Regions from separate parts of the Homo sapiens genome. Here region 2 is linked to region 1. The links are contacts of gene promoters, found by promoter capture Hi-C in blood cells and fetal thymus (Javierre and others, 2016). All regions are on one chromosome and are shown on one strand. The core of a region is centred on a gene start or on the middle of the fragment in contact, and the rest is flanking DNA. Distances in the headings are between cores, read along the strand shown.

Region 1 (4,774 bases), core at 1,367-3,866:
TAATCTGGTAAAACATCTGAGGATTAGTCATTCTATGATTTTATTTTTCTTTTGTTGCTTTGAACTAGTTCTCTGAAGAATACTGAAATTGATAAGCAGAGCCTTTATTGCCAGGATTTGAGGCTGTCACATTTGGGTCTTCCCCTACGGTTCATAGCTGTGTATGTCAGCTTCTCAGACACATATGGAGGTACAATGACTTTGGGAATGTACAACTTGAAAACCACAAACATTTAAGTCACCTAGGAAGATGGGAAAAGTACAAAACCAGTGTATCAAATAATCTTTCCTCCCTGAAACATTTCTTTTTTGTGTTTTAGATTATGTTTTTAGGTAAAAAAAAATTTTGTTTAATATAAAAGTATATGGGAGGCTGAGGCAGGAGGATCACTTGAGATCAGCCTAGGCAATACAGGAAGATCCCATCTCTACTACTGCTACTACTACTACTACTACTAATAAATTAGCATGGGGGAGGGATAGCATTAGGAGAAATACCTAATGTAAATGATGAATTAATGGGTGCAGCAAACCAACATGGCACATGTATACATATGTAACAAACCTGCACGTTGTGCACATGTATCCTAGAACTTAAAGTATAAAAAAAGAAGAAGAAGAAAAGAAAACAAACAAAAAAAATTGGCTGAGGCTGGGAGTGGTGGTTCACACCTGTAATCCCAGCACTTTAGGAGGCCAAGGTGGGTGGATCACTTGAGGTCAGGAGTTCAAGACCAGCCTGGCCAACATGGTAAAACCCCATCTCTACTAAAAAAAAAAAAAAAAAAAAAAAAAAAAAATTGGCCAGGTGTGGTGGCGGGTGTCTGTAACTCCAGCTACTCAGGAGGCTGAGGCATGAGAATCACCTGAACTCAGGAGGTGGATGTTGTATTGAGCCAAGATCGTGCCACTGCACTCCAGCCTGGGCAACAGAGCGAGACTCTGTCTAAAAAAAAAAAAAAGAAAATAAAAAAAGAAAAAGAAAAGAAATTAGCTGGGTGTGGTGACATGCACTCGTGGTCCCAGCTACTAGGGAGGCTGAGGCAGGAGGATTGCCTGAGCCCTGGAGGTCGAGGCTGCAGTAAGCATGTTGACATCACTGCACTCCAGCCTGGGTGACACAGCAAGACCTTGTCTCCCCCCGCCAAAAAAAAACCATAAAGAAAGAAAGAAAAAAAAACCCTAAAACCACAAACATTTTGAAAACAATCCTTTCATTGATTTCTTTACACAGATATATAACTTTACACGATAAAATCATATATATATTAATTAAAGCCTAAGTGAAAATGGAATATTAAACTAAAAACTAACCATGGGCAAGACCTGATAGGTCCTAGCCTGATTCTGCTACTTCCTATGTATGTGAACTTGGGAAAACTACCTAACCTCTTTAAATCCTTCATTCCTTTATTAATTAAACAAATATTTATTGAGCACCTAATATATGCAATCCTCTGTGCTATTCCCCAGGCTCAATTGTTTCTCTATCTCTAAAAAGCCAATAAAAAAGAGTATCAGCTTTATAGGATTGTCATAATTGTTAAAATATATATGTAGTTTAGGGCATGGCCTATACAATTACAAAAATTATTGAGGGCTTGTAATTATACTATTCAAGAACCAGGAATAAGAAAAAGGGTCAAAACAGGAGTCCTTAAATGTTTGCACTAAAATTCATGCATTTATTTCACAGGTGAGCCTTCAGAACTCAGTTTCGGGCTGTTTGCTCTTCATTTACACAACATTCTTTCAAAATATGAGGATCTGCTTTCCAAATACCTAGCAGAGAGGAAAGACGGAGGTGCTGCAGTCAGCCACGACACCTGCGGAAATCGGGAAGTATAACCATAGCTTTATAACTAACCAATTATCCCTTGATGGAAAGCTGACAATTCTCCACACTATCCCAAGGAGAGAAAAAGATTTATCCTGCTCTGTGATGCACTCCCTGACCCCTCTCCCCGACGTGCTTAAGCATAAATTGTTGAGAAAAGGTTTAGGAATATCTTGTGAACAGGTAATTAAAATGAATATCATAGAATTGAACAGCTAGAATATAGTTTACAAACCCTCTCCCGTTTCCCCCCTTAAAAGTGATGTTATACTTTCCACAGTGCCTTCCAAGTTTCCCCTCGCTTATTACTGCGAACCCCCGCACCAGGAGGGGAGGCCCCTGGGGAGAGGAGGCTTTGTGGTCTAGCTCATCGCCGAATGTCCTGCTCCGGAAGTAGTCTCTGGCCTGCAAGAAACTTTTATTCAATCATTGAATGGGTGGAGTTGCTGATCTTTCCAAATCTCTCACTTTTCTACCTAGGGAACTTTCTTTTCTTTCCTGTTTGCGGCAGAATCTTTATGCTCAAGGCTGATTCCTAGGTCCCCGACCCTGCATATCCTGGTGGCAAGTAGCCACCCCCACAATCTTCCAACAGCTGGTCCCGCCTGGGCTTCCTCTCTCCAGGAATACTCTCAGTAGCCTTTCCCACGCAAGCCGGGTTCAGGGAATACCTGGGCATCGTCGACGGCCTGGCTGCCGCAAACGTCACAGGCTCGGAGTAGTGACCAGCCTAGAATCAGGCGGCGAGCTCCGCAAGGAGTCTGGGAGTGAGGCCTTCTGGGTTGCCATGGGAGCGACGTCGCGGCCGCGGTTGCGTGGGGAGACGGGCATCATGGGAAATGTAGTTTTCAGGAGTCCTTTTACATCTCATTCTCGGCCTCAAGCCTTAGGATTGCTTTTAGATCCCAAGTTAGTAACTCCTTGTTACCTCCTAGAACGAGATGATAAGGGGTTACAAACCTGGGATCTAAAAGCAATTTTCTTTTATTTTAAAATTTTTTTACTGGGTGTCAACTATATGCCAAGGGTCTCTGCTCTCTCTCTCTCTCATCTTTCACTTTTTTCTTCCCAATCGCCATGATTTAGGAATAGAGGGTGTAACAATCTCTTGAGCTGTTTTCTGCTAATTTACTAGAAGCAAGGAATATTCGGACTTTAAAATTTAAAATAAGGCACGTAATTTTAATATTTTCCAACTTTCTAGATGTTTAGTTGTTTCAAGTTTTATTCAATAGCACATTGTGTATTTATTAATAAATTAATGAAGCAAGTGCATCTCCTACATACTTCATTTACTTTGTGAATGTAGATTATTTTCTTTTGGAACTTTGTGGTCTCTTTATAGATCTGCAGGAGTGTCCAAATAAATAACGAGCATTGAAATAAATAACAATCATTGAATATGCAAGGCCCTATGCTACACAGAATAAGGAATAAAGAGATGAGTAAGAAAAGATCGCTGCCCTTAAGAAAGACACACACTCAGCTAATTATAAGCACCTAAGGAAGTGAGTGATCTAAACTATTGTATAGAGGTACAAAAATTGCATGAGGGCAAGTGACCAATTATGCCTGAAGGAGATGGTGAAACCATGGCACTGATAGTATTTGGTCTGTATTGAATGCTGAGTAGACTCAGGCTTTCTAGCCTAAGATGCCCTGAATATTTGAAGGAGATACCCTCCCTCCAGTCCTCTACTATTCGGCTTGATTTCTATGGTGCGATGTTCAAGTACATGGGCTTTGGCGTGAGATGGACCTAGGTTCAAGTTCTGACTTGGCCACGCTGGCTAAGTTGTCACATTGCCACATCGGGTAAATCACTGAATTTCTGATCCTGTAAAGCGGGAAAGATTGTGAATCTTAAATGAGATAAATGTAGGTAAAACATAACTTACGTGGGTGTCTGACACATTATAACTGCTTAATGCTTGTTATTATTGTGTGATAAGCTGCTGGTCAGCAACTTCGAACAAAGAAACACAAGGAACACATTCCTGGAAACAAGGCTGATGGTTGATAAAAGGGTGTTTATTTCAAATAAAGTCATTGGGAACAAAATCCTCCCAACACCTAGGTATATTTTGGAGACGTAAAGAACACTAAGCTGCACATAGGAAGGGAATTAATGGGAGTAGAGCTCACCGAAGAAAGGATGATTTTTCAAAGGAGGCTTATACATCTGTCATTGAATCAACAGCTATAGCCTGGTGCTAAGCCAGACTTTAAGCTCACAAACTGATATGGGACAGATTGTAATGAATTGTAATGATTTGGGTTCTAGAACTTCAGAATACTTTTGCATGCTAGTTAGGAAGGCCTGTTGATATTGATAGCAATAACGACAGCTAACATTTTTGCCAAGTGCTTGCTATGTACTGGGCACAATACTCAGTACGAGTACTTCAAAAGTACACTTGTTTGAATAACGGGGAGAGGTGTTTGAAGGAGGGAGCTTGGTAACCAGGAAAGTGAAGGTGATCCGGCTGGGCCCTGATCAGCAGCATTGATTCAGGGTTGATTCAGTTGATCTGACTGAGCAGGTGAGTTCCCCTTTCTTCCCTCATTCCTCTTGAGGCCTTCATACTTGGGCAAAGAAAGTGACTTTCCTGGGTAGATGAAGATTGTTCTTAAGGTAAGAATGGAAGGAGAAGGAGACAATTTTATGCTGCTTTCTGGATGGAATGAGCAACAGTGCAGAAGGGTAAAGGCGTGTGCAGGATGTATTTGGGAAACTGAATAGTTTGGGTTGCGATCATATAAAGTGCCTGGTGGAGCTACAGTGGAAGAGCAAACTGGGCAGGTAGATGGGGCTACTGTGAAGGATGCTGTAGTCTAGACTTTACTGTGTTGGTTATGAGAAACCAAATAGGGTTTAAAAATAGGAGTGTGCCATGATTAGACATGAATTTCAGTGAGATAATTTTTTGCAGTTGT
Region 2 (4,722 bases), core at 4-2,503, 1.4 Mb after region 1:
TTTAAAAGTCAGCTTGGAAAAAATGAGAGAATTTAAAAAATTAACAACTATTTCACAGTTGGTTCCTATCTCTACTCAGTATTACCCAATTTAAATTTTATGTTGGTTTTCCATCCATTCCCCAGGCGCTTTCACAGAGCGGCCTGCCAGAGGCCATTAGCACACACCCCTCACAAATGGAGAAGCAGCGGCATTCAGATTCACCAGGAGCTGGACTGGCATTTGCACTCACTCAGTTCACCTGGTGATTGGCAAGCTTCTCTACTCTGAGTCGTGGTCACTTCCCTTCAGAATAGAATGTGGGGAACAACCTGAAGGGATCGTGATAAAAAAAGATTGTCTTTGATGTTGGATGGGATATGCAAATACGAATGAGAATAGGGTGCCTTAGTACTGTCAGAGTGTGCTGTGTTTTATTTGGGAAATGAGACAAAATCTTCCCATGATCAGCCATTCCATGTGACATCCCAACCCACACTCTGCTACTGACATTTTATCTCCCACTGAACAGCCTGGCTGTTGTAACATTTTCAGGATTCTTAATTTATGTCTTGCAGGATCTAAAATCAGATGGCAGGAACTTTAAGAAAATAACCAGTGTTGACAGGCACCTTATAAAAGAAGCTGGTACACCTTAGTGCTGCTAAAAGTTAGAGAATATTCTTTCGTTTCTTCTTCCAAAATATGTCCAGAAGTCAGTGGGATGGAGACAGTAGCTGTCCCAAATCATTTAATTTCTCTTTTCAATCTAAACTCTATGAAAGGCTTTTTCTTTCACTCAATATTTGCTAGCGCCTGGGACTCAAGAAGGCTAATGTCAATGGATCATTTTCTTTTGAGGTAGTCGAACTTTTTGTCGTAGAAAAATCTTCCTGAATCTATTCAGTATCAAAACATGGGGTGGGCCTGGCACGGTGGCTCATGCCTGTAATCCCAGCATTTTGGGAGTCTTGAGTTTGGCAGATCACTTGAGCCCAGGAGTTTGAGACTAGCCTGGGAAACATGGTGAAACCCCATCTCTACTAAAAATACAAAAAATTAGCCAGGCGTGGTGGCGCGCATCTGTGGTTCCAGCTACCCGGGAGACTGAGGTAGGAGAATCACCTCAGCCTGGGAAGTCAAGGCTGCAATGAGCCGAGATCACACCACTGTACTCCAGCCTGGGACAGAGTGAGACCCTGTTTCAAAAAGAATTTAAAAAAAAAAAAAAAAAAAAGGAAATCACTAGTCCCAAACCACTTATCCTTGGAGAAATATGGACATAAACCCAAATTGCATGTTCTTTCCATTATATCACAGTGTCTCTTTGTAAAAGTGGCAACTTTGGGCTGGCTTACATGAATTCGCTGAAACCTTTACAACATATTGGCGGTGCTGAATACTTGGGGCTCTTGAACGTAAGCCTGCAACCAGGATGCTGGTGTACACCCTCACCCTGGAATGCTCAGCCTTGATCCTCCTCTTTTCAGAATGGCTTCATATCTATTTATTTGTAACATAGTGCTTAACAGTAGGAAGTCTTGAGCCAAATGCCTAGCTCTGCCACTTATCCCTGACCTGAGCAAGTTACTTAGCTTCTCCAGGCGTCATTTTCCTGTATTCTAAAATGGAGATGATAATAGCATTTACCTTATAGGATTGTTGTGAAGATTAAATGAGTTTAGGGCAATGCTATATATAGGTTAGTATCATCCATCAATTTGCAACATGATTTCATAAGTGCATCTAGAATATGCTTGTGTAAACCTATGGTTAGATGATGAAGCTAAGAAAAGCCTGAGTCCATCCCTGGAGAGTAAGAAACTAGTATACTCCTTTTACACAGTACCTTGCACACAGCACAGGCTTAACAGACATATTTAAATTGAACTGAAGCGAATACTACCAGAACTGAAAGTGGTAGTTCCAGATCTTTCAGGCTCAAGGTCCAGATTTTACAAGTGTTTCTGATCACCCTCCCCCTACCTCATTTATCGCAAAGAGCAGAGGCCAGGAAAAGGATGAATAATCAATGACCTTAAAACTCAGGTGAGAATAAAAACCAGTTCTGAGAAACCGTGTGACATTTACATCCTGGTACCTGAGCTTTAGATCACTCTGCATGTGTATTTCCTCTGCACAAAGCCCAGGAGGCTACTTTTATATTATTGGGGCAAATCTCCCAACAGCCCTGGGTACTAAACAGCCTTCAGCAGGTGCTTCCAAATTTTCTTATTTGCTTCAACTCCCAGGTTGCCAGGGGAAGCTTGGCCGACAAGTCTATACTCCTGGGCAGACTGAGCAACAGCAGGTGGTGGCTTCTGGATAAGAGGTGCTCTAGGTCGGAAGGAAATAAATGAGACTACGATCAGTTAAAGTTCGGTAAAGCAAGAGACGCCTTCAACCCGACGACCAGACGGTGGCTCCGCAGCACAGACTCTCTCGGATGGTGGAATTCCCAACCGGCTTCGATGTAGCCCCGCCCCTACCCAGACCACGCCCACCAATCACCGCCCTCTCCCCCCCAGGCCCCGCCTGGAGCCCGCCCCTCCTAAAGCATGCTCCACCTGACTCCGACACTGCCGGGCTTAGTCCGCCGGGCTTAGTCCGTGGAGCGCTTGCGCATTTCTTGAGTTGTCGTGGCACTGCCCAAATCTGAATGGGGGAAAGAGGGAACTTCATATTTCCTACAGACTCCGCCACAGCGACTTTGCGTGCTCTCTTAGAGCTGGTTTTGCCTTTCGTGGTCCTGAGAACCCTGGCTTTTGGTTCCCCAATGCGGCTTAAGTGTGCAGGTTTTAAGTTAGGCGATCTTCGGGCAGCCCTAGTCCCAGCACCGGGTCCTTGCGCTGAGTCTCGGGACCACAGCCGGGGAGGCGGGGTCCTTCTCTGGGGCGGTCGCGTTGGCAGCGGATGCGGGAAGCCGGACTCTGGGCGTCATGTACTACAAGTTTAGTGGCTTCACGCAGAAGTTGGCAGGAGCATGGGCTTCGGAGGCCTATAGCCCGCAGGTACGAGTGGCGCCTGGCCAGCTCGGACATGAGAAGTGGCGGCCCTAGCCTCGGCGACAGGCAGTCGCGGCGTTGGAGCCAGGGGAGGCTTCTGCCCGCGGTCGAGTTCGTCTCTGTTCTCCTTGCACCTCCCGGGGCCTCTCCACACCAGCGTACGGTGGTCACTGAGGCTTCTTTTTGTGTACCTGCTCACCTGGCGGGGGCTGGCCTGGCGTGGAAGTTTGGTCTGGCTCACTGCAGGGGTCAAGGTGACCCCCGGGGTCACTTGTCTAAAAGGGATGGTTTGTGGGGGTCCCCAGTGTGACCCGAGTCAGAGGTCCGGCCTTCTCCCTCAATTCGAAGACATCTGGCTTTCGGCCTCCTTGTCGTTTGTCATCTGCCAGAGCCCCATAGGCAGCCTCACTTGAGCTCGAGATTAGAGAGCGCGGGGCTATAAAGGCGTTTAGAGAAACCATGGTGCAGGGGGTTGGGGGGCTATGATCTGGGTTGGGAAATTTAACAGGTTACTTAACACGTCCAGGGAGGGAAGTTGCATGCAGCGAGGTTACACTTTCCCGATTGTAAAATATTTGACAGATGCTCGTTGTTTGGGTTGTCTGAAAAGTATTCCATTTCACGCAGATTCTACCAATTGGAGTTTGACTCTCCAGCATGTGTTGGGGGTAAACATGAGGGATTTTAGAGCCCCAGACGTGCCTTTTCAAATCATGGCGTTTTCCGCTTTAATTGTGTGACCTTGGCCAAGTTATTTAATTTATTGTGAGCTCAGTTTCATCCAGGGCGGCGTTAGTACACATTAAATGAAGTGTGTCAAGTGACTAGCAGTTTGGGCAGGTGGTTGGTTCTGGATAAGTGTTAACTGTTCACCAGAAGCTGTCTGAGATAGTATATTCCCTCCTAATCCTCTAGAGAAGTGTGGGAAGTGTCGGTGAGATACGCAGTTAGACTGCAGTAGTGAGGGGCCCAGATGAGGTGTAAAGGATACTCCATTACTGTTGCTTCATTTCCTTTTTCTGTGGGACACTGCAGCTTGCCCAAGAGGCAGATGTTTAAGAAAGATTTCAGGTCTGGTACCGTGGCTCACGCCTGTAAATCACAGCACTTTGGAAGGCCGAGGCCGAGGGTCGCTTGAGCCCAGGAGTTTGAGATCAGCCTGGGGCAACATAGTGAGACCCTGTCTCTAAAAACAAAAACAGATGATTCTAATCTCAGATAAGAAGGGCAAGTTTTTTTTTTTTTTTTCGGGGGTTAGTGGGGGAGTTGCGGTGGGAACGGGAAGGAAGAGTTTAGGGTTTATAAATGTTGAGTTTGTGATATGTCATGCTTGGTAGCAGCTAGATTTTTGAATATGGAGTTTAATAAACTTGGGTGTCTTCAGCCCATAGGTGGTAATTTGTAGGGAAGAAAGGTTGGATTATAGTTAGAGTATAGAAACATGAGGGAAGGGTGGAGAAGGAGAATGTGTTTAAAGAATAGTCCGGATGAGAAGGGAAACCAGTGTGGTCTCACTGAAACCGAATTGGTAATGACTTGTAAGGAAGGAATAGTCAGCAGTGTTGCACTTCTTTTACAGATTATGTGAGAAAATGGCCATTTCTATCATCTGCTTCTATGAAATGTATTCTCCAGTGTATGGATATTAAATGTTACAGTTTGATGAGTTTGGACAAACCCATGTACTGTATAACCACACCTCCCTCAATATGCAAGATGTTACATCATCCCAGGAAGT

Evidence for each region. The method cuts DNA at HindIII sites, captures the fragments that hold promoters and counts their contacts. A CHiCAGO score of 5 or more calls a contact.
Region 2: a fragment that was not itself captured here is called in contact with the fragment with the promoter of DYNC2LI1 in region 1 in 1 of 17 cell types (monocytes); the score reaches 8.0 in monocytes.

What each region holds. Positions count from the first base shown.
Region 1 is chr2:43,771,881-43,776,654 of GRCh38, reverse strand. DYNC2LI1 (dynein cytoplasmic 2 light intermediate chain 1) reads right to left here and starts at 2,616. Exons shown (of 13, transcript NM_016008.4): 1 at 2,509-2,616. The coding sequence starts at 2,516. LOC105374571 (a long non-coding RNA gene) reads right to left here and starts at 2,502. Exons shown (of 2, transcript XR_940033.2): 1 at 2,109-2,502; 2 at 1,663-1,782. It also overlaps the pseudogene RN7SKP66. RefSeq lists an enhancer at 2,681-2,730. The HindIII fragment of the contact is 6,929 bases long and covers 1-4,774 here.
Region 2 is chr2:42,359,358-42,364,079 of GRCh38, reverse strand. It overlaps COX7A2L (cytochrome c oxidase subunit 7A2 like), which reads left to right and starts at 2,863. Exons shown (of 3, transcript NM_004718.4): 1 at 2,863-2,990. The coding sequence starts at 2,919. RefSeq lists enhancers at 2,123-2,212, 2,773-2,832, 2,202-2,945, 2,853-3,172, 2,946-3,690 and 1 more and a silencer at 2,403-2,572. The HindIII fragment of the contact is 1,989 bases long and covers 259-2,247 here.